Linked DNA regions of Homo sapiens: region 2 is linked to region 1. Evidence: promoter capture Hi-C in 16 types of primary human blood cells and fetal thymus (Javierre and others, 2016). All regions are on one chromosome and are shown on one strand. The core of a region is centred on a gene start or on the middle of the fragment in contact, and the rest is flanking DNA. Distances in the headings are between cores, read along the strand shown.

The links. Contacts are between HindIII fragments. The CHiCAGO score rates a contact against its expected background, and 5 or more counts as called.
Region 2: a fragment that was not itself captured here is called in contact with the fragment with the promoter of CD1A in region 1 in 1 of 17 cell types (fetal thymus); the score reaches 6.6 in fetal thymus.

What each region holds. Positions count from the first base shown.
Region 1 is chr1:158,252,714-158,255,745 of GRCh38, forward strand. CD1A (CD1a molecule) reads left to right here and starts at 1,711. Exons shown (of 6, transcript NM_001763.3): 1 at 1,711-2,014; 2 at 2,371-2,637. The coding sequence starts at 1,957. The HindIII fragment of the contact is 5,152 bases long and covers 1-3,032 here.
Region 2 is chr1:158,294,721-158,298,009 of GRCh38, forward strand. It overlaps CD1C (CD1c molecule), which reads left to right. Exons shown (of 6, transcript NM_001765.3): 6 at 1-54. It also overlaps a transcript of CD1B not described here. Among named protein-coding and RNA genes, the nearest start is that of CD1C, 6.4 kb to the left of the region's middle. The HindIII fragment of the contact is 3,555 bases long and covers 1-3,289 here.

The DNA.
Region 1 (3,032 bases), core at 461-2,960:
ATGGTGAAACCCCATCTCTATTAATAATATCAAAGTTAGCCAGGCATGGTGGTGCATACCTGTAATCCCAGTTACTTGCAAAACCGAGGCAGGACAATTGCTTTAACCTGGGAGGCAGAGGTTGCAGTGAGCTGAGATCATGCCACTGAACTCCAGCCTGGGTGACAGAGTGAGACTCTGTCTCAAAACAAAACAAAACAAAACAAAACAAAAAACAAATAAAAAAATTATTTGCAGGCCATGCCTGGTGGCTCATGCCAACAATCCCAGCACTTTGGGAGGCTGACACAGGAGGATTGCTTGAGGCCGGGAGTTGGAGGTTACAGTGAGCTATGATTATTCCACTGCACTCCAGCCTGAGTAACAGAGTGAAACCCTGTCTCAAGAAAAAAAATTTTTTCCCCCTAAATTAGCTTCAGATACTTTTTTTTTGAAAACCAAAAAATAGTAAATAGCCCAGACACATTTATATGGATGATATCTACAAAGCACAAACATATATTTAGAAGCCCTTCAACAGTTACAAGCAGCGTAAAAGAGGAATGTAAATGTGTCCGGCAAAGACTCATTTATAACAAAACAACCCTGAAACATCCAAATAGGACTAATAAAAAGGGATCCTGGGATAAAGACTTTGGAATACTCCATTAACTTCACTGCTCACAAGTTCTGACTAGTTTCTTATAAGTAATAGGACATTTATAGCAGGATCTTTTATGTAAATCTCATGCCAGTAACTTGTACTTTTATCCTAAATAAAACTGTATGAGATTCTCATCTCACTACATAGGGTTACAAGTAACTTTTATGATATCTTTAAAAAGTTTCATGTTGAATATCACCTCCATAATTAAAAAATGGATGCATAGACTGAATTCATTCATTCATTTGACAAATATTCACTAAGCACCTACCACTTGTGAGATACTCTGTTAGGTGGGGATACAGTATGATAACTGTATGGAACTAACACTCCAAGTCAAACATTGAAGTCAAAATTCTGGGCTGGCGTACATTAGTTAGGAGCCCCCATTTTAGAAAATATTATTTCAAGCAGGCCTTGTTTTTATCCAGAGAGTGTATACAGTATAATAAAACTCAGTACACCAAGATTTATATTTCATGGCGTGTTTTTCTCCCTAAGTAGAGAAAAAGCTCCTTCAGTAAAGTGATTGTGTTGTCAACCACTGCATATTCTTAAGTGTACCAAGATGCTTGACTCCAGGCAGGTGCTAAGAGAGACTGTTGGGTGAGTGAATGTATATCAATGAAAATCAAACAGAGGAAATTTTCTTTATATGTTTTAGTGTTCCTGTGGTTTTTTTTTTTTTTTTTTTTTTTTTTTTTTTTTTTTTTTTTGTGATGGTTACTGGCTCTTCTCTAAGAATAATGGAGAAAAGGTGTTAGTTTGTACTGTCGCACAGGGCAGTCGTAGGAGACTCTGAAAAAGCAAATAAATCAATGTTAAATCAGAAATGTGAATGTAGTAAGGGGCTGAAGAGACAGGGGAAGAGAATACATGGGAAAATATTGAAAAGGACAGAGTGATCAAAAAGAGCAGGGACATGGGAGCATTGGGCAGCACACTGGGAGCCATTTCACTTTATGCTCTTATTGTATGATTGAGAAAAAAATGTCCTTAGTGGTTAAGTGGCTTTTCAATGCCACATCAGACTTGTTCCATAGCAGTTGAATTAGGGGAAGGTGAATAAGTTGGAGGTTGGTGACAAGGAGAGAAGCTGGAACAGAGAGGAGAGTCAGAACCAGAGGGAAATGAGAGACTGAGTAGGCATCTCAGGGTTTTTGAAGGAGTGGATTTTCTTTGTTGCAGTCAGGGGAGGTTTGTCTGTTGGCTGCAGAAAGAAGTCAGAATAGAGATATCGTGGGGTAGGTTTGTTTGGAACAGAAATCAAAGACCAATTTTTCTGAGAGAAGGAAATAACATCTGCAAATGATATGCTGTTTTTGCTACTTCCATTGTTAGCTGTTCTCCCAGGTGATGGCAATGCAGACGGTAAGAACTCTGACAACTGCCCAGTTGGGTGGTGGGTGAAGGTCTCTCTCTCTCTCTCTGTGTGTGTGTGTGTGTGTGTGTGTGTGTGTGTGTGTGTGTGTGTGTGGTTTCCCTAGCATATACCTGGAAAGTGAGAGTGCCAGGCTGGTTCCATTCTGACTATCCATGACTCCAGGTCCCTGAGCTCTTATGAAGGTGGTTGATAAGGCATGGGACTGTGTGGCAAGTGAATGTCTGCTAAGATCATGATGGATCCCCTTTTCTCCAGATTCTGAGTTCCCGCACTCTGGCACCTTTCTCTCTCCATCCTCTTTCTCAATGTCTTTCTCCCCATTCTATCTGTTCTTTTGTCGCAGGGCTCAAGGAGCCTCTCTCCTTCCATGTCACCTGGATCGCATCCTTTTACAACCATTCCTGGAAACAAAATCTGGTCTCAGGTTGGCTGAGTGATTTGCAGACTCATACCTGGGACAGCAATTCCAGCACCATCGTTTTCCTGTGCCCCTGGTCCAGGGGAAACTTCAGCAATGAGGAGTGGAAGGAACTGGAAACATTATTCCGTATACGCACCATTCGGTCATTTGAGGGAATTCGTAGATACGCCCATGAATTGCAGTTTGAATGTGAGTTCAGTTTTCTCCATGGAGAGTGGTGAGGTGGGAGAGAGGGGTTGTCTCAATGTTTCTTATTCCTTTAGGAAACAGCCTGACTCTCTTCTGTATCTTATTCTATTCTTTCCACCATAAAACTGCAATTGCATACTTTTGGGCAAGGGCTATCATCCAGACCTTAATTCTCCAAACACTTCTGCTACTTATGAACTCCTCTCTCATTGATTGCAGGGTTGTGCATTATTATCTTTTCTTACAGGTATCCCAGGACCACCCTTCTGCCTGCCCTACAACCAGATACCTTCAGCTTTCTCACTTTCTCATTCATTCTCTTCAGCAGTCTCTCTATATATACTCAATTGTAACCCATTGCATTTAATTCAACCTAAGTTGTTATAATCCCAGTT
Region 2 (3,289 bases), core at 522-3,021, 42 kb after region 1:
AACTTGTATTTTCTATGATTTTATTAAGATGGAAATAAACATATCTACTTGGTATTGCCTTTTATTTTTCTTCAGTTTAGCATATGGTTGTAAGTAATCCATGCTGCTCAGTGTATTAGTAACCATTCCTTTTCATTGCTGAATAGAATTCCATGTATGAATATAACTTTTTTTGGAGGAGGAGGTGGCTTCCCAGATCTGGCAGGGCCTTTGTCTCCTTGTGCCCACTCACCCAGCTTGGGTCCTGCTTCCATTGCTCATTTCCTTGGCACCAGGAGGCCCTAGGTGACTCTCCTGCACCCTTAGTCACCCTGTGACCTGCAGATACAGAGAGATCAATAGAGAGGATTCTAGGACACCCAGGAAACTGGGAAATAAAGCCAAAAATATATAAAATTAAACTTATTTTTGGGAGAAGAGACAAGATGGCTGACTAGATGCAGCCAGGAAGAGCTTCTCCCACCAAGAGACAAGACCATCAAGAAGAGCAGTATACTCTGAGAAGATCATTGGAAAGAAGGCATTGAGAGTGGATGGAGGGAGAATGCAGACCCTGGGCTGAAGGGGGGAAGAAGCTGCGAACCCTACACAGGGTTGCCAAACACTAGGACTTATTCTTGGTCCTCAGTGGCTTCTAGGGAAGGGGTTGGTTAAATAGGCATGAAGTGGCCCACTCTATCCATGAACCTCTGGAATCCTAGCTGCAGGAGACCCCCACGACCCACACAGACATTTGAGTTGGCAGGGAAAGCTACTTGCAGAGTTGGCAGGGACAGGACTCCAGCTTCTATGGAACCCAGAGGGTTTGGTGTGAGAACAGCTACAGTGGAGCATGGTTAGGGATGTCCATTACCCGAGGATTGGCATGCTCCTCTAGGTGGCTTTGACCCCTTTGTTGACTATCAGACCTGGACAGAATAGGGCTACCATGATATTTGGATGGGGCTAGACTGATCTGAGCCCCCCACCCCATGTCTGCTGGCCTCTCCCAGGATCCCTGCCTGTCTGTACCTGCTTGCAGCACAGCCTCAGATGTTCAACTGAGGCAGTTCTCAGAGACCACTGCCATAGGTCTTTCACTGGCTGACCCCACCAAACCACCAAATAGCTTCTGTCACTGGCCTCACATCAGCATGCACCTGCCTTCAGCACCCACAACTGCTTTGCTGGCATACATACACAGACATCACTGCCTTGCTACCACTTCTGTGCACATATGCATGGAGACCTCACCACTGCTGCACTGTCCCCACTAGCCTACATGCGTGCATGTACCCTGCCACACTACCATCCCTGGTGTACATGTGCATGGACCTTCTACCCTGCTGCCCCACCACCACCAGCATGTGAGTGAGTGTGGACCCCACCATGCCACTGCCCCACTGCTGCCAGTACATGCATGTGAGAGCAGACCCCCACCGCCACTGCCCTTATGAAATGCTTTTCTGGGACCCCCCCACCCTGCCCACCATAGGAGTGTTGTTGCTAGTGGACTGGGAGCACCTTGGCCCCCTCCAGTGAAGCAGGTGCTCAGTCTCAAGGGGCCAAAGAACAAGGTTCTGGGCCTGGTCCCAGGCCCTCAGTCTTAGAGCATATAGCCCAGGAGTGCTGAGCTGAGCCATGGCCCCCTGAAATCATCAAGAAATAAAGCTAGCTCACTGACCCAAACCTATACCATAGTCAAAGCCTCAAGGGCATCAAAGAATATAAAAGCAAAAGGCCCCATCAAAAGGACAGCAACTTTAAACGTTTAAGGAACATCAGCCCACATAGATGAGAAAGAACCCGTGGAAGAACTCAGGCAGCTCTAAAAGTCAGAGTGTCTTCTTACTTCCAAATGAACACACTAGCTCCCCAACAATCTTTCCTAACCAGACTAAAATGGCTGAGATAATAGACATAGATTTTAGAATCTGGATGGCAATGAAAATCATGAGATTCAGGAGAAAGTTGAAATGGAATCCAAAGAATTTAAGGAATCCAGTAAAATAATACAATAACTGAAAGACAAAATAGCCATTTTAAGAAAGAACTAAGCTGATTTGACAGAGCTAAAAAATTCACTAAAGAATTTTATAATACAATTGGAAGTATTAAAGGCAGAATAGACCACACTGAGGGAAGAATCTCAGAGCTCAAAGACCAGTTCTTCTAATTAACTCAGTCACACAAAATAAAGAAAAAATAATACAGAAGGATGAACAAAATCTCTGAGAAATATGAGGTTATGTAAAGAGACCAAACCTGTACTCACTGATGTCCCTGAAAGAGAGAGAGAGAGAGTGTGCAAACAATTGAAAACATATATGAGGATATTGTCCATGACAATTTTCTCAACTTCACTATAGAGGTCAACATTCAAATTCAAGAAATTCAGAGAACTCCTGAGAGATACTACACTAGAAAACCATCCTCAAGATACACAATAATAAGATTATCCAAGGTCAATGTGAAAGAAAAAAATACTAAAGGCAACCAGAGAGGAGGAGCAGGTCACCTACAAAGGGACCCCAATCAAGCTAACAGCATACCTTTCAGCAGAAACCTTAGAAGCCAGAAGACATTGAGGGCCTATATTCAGCATTGTTAAAGAAAAGAAATTCTGACCCAAAATTTCATATCCAGCCCAAGTAAGATTTATATGTTAAAGAGAAATTCAGCAAAGCAAATGCTAAGGAAATTTATTACCACCAGACCTGCCTTATAAGAAGTCATTAAGGGAGTGCTAAACATGGAAATAAAAGACTCTTACCAGCCACCACATAAATGCACTTAAGTAAACAGACCAGTGACACTATAAAGGAACTACACAATTAAGTCTACATAACAACCAGCTAACAATAATGACAAAATCAACTTCTCACTTATCAATATTTACCTTGAAGGTAAATGAGCTAAACACCCCAAGACACAGAGTGGCAAGTTGAATAAAGAAACAAGACCCTGGCTCATGCCTGTAATCCTAACACTTTGAGGCTAAGGCAGGCCGATTGCTTGATCCTATGAGTTTGAGACCAACCTAGGCAACATGGAAAAACCCCATTTCTACAAAAAAACCAAGAAAATTAGCTAAGAATGGTGGCACATGCCTGTAGTCCCAGCTACTGAGGAGGCTGAGGTAGGAGGATCACCCAAGCCTGGGGAGGTGGAGGCTGCAGTAAGTTGTGATCATGCCACTGCACTTCGGCCTAAGTAACAGAGTGAGACCCTGTCTCACGTTAAAAAAGACAAAAAAAAAAAAAATAAACAAGACCCACCTGTAAGTTATCTTCAAGAGACCCATCTCACA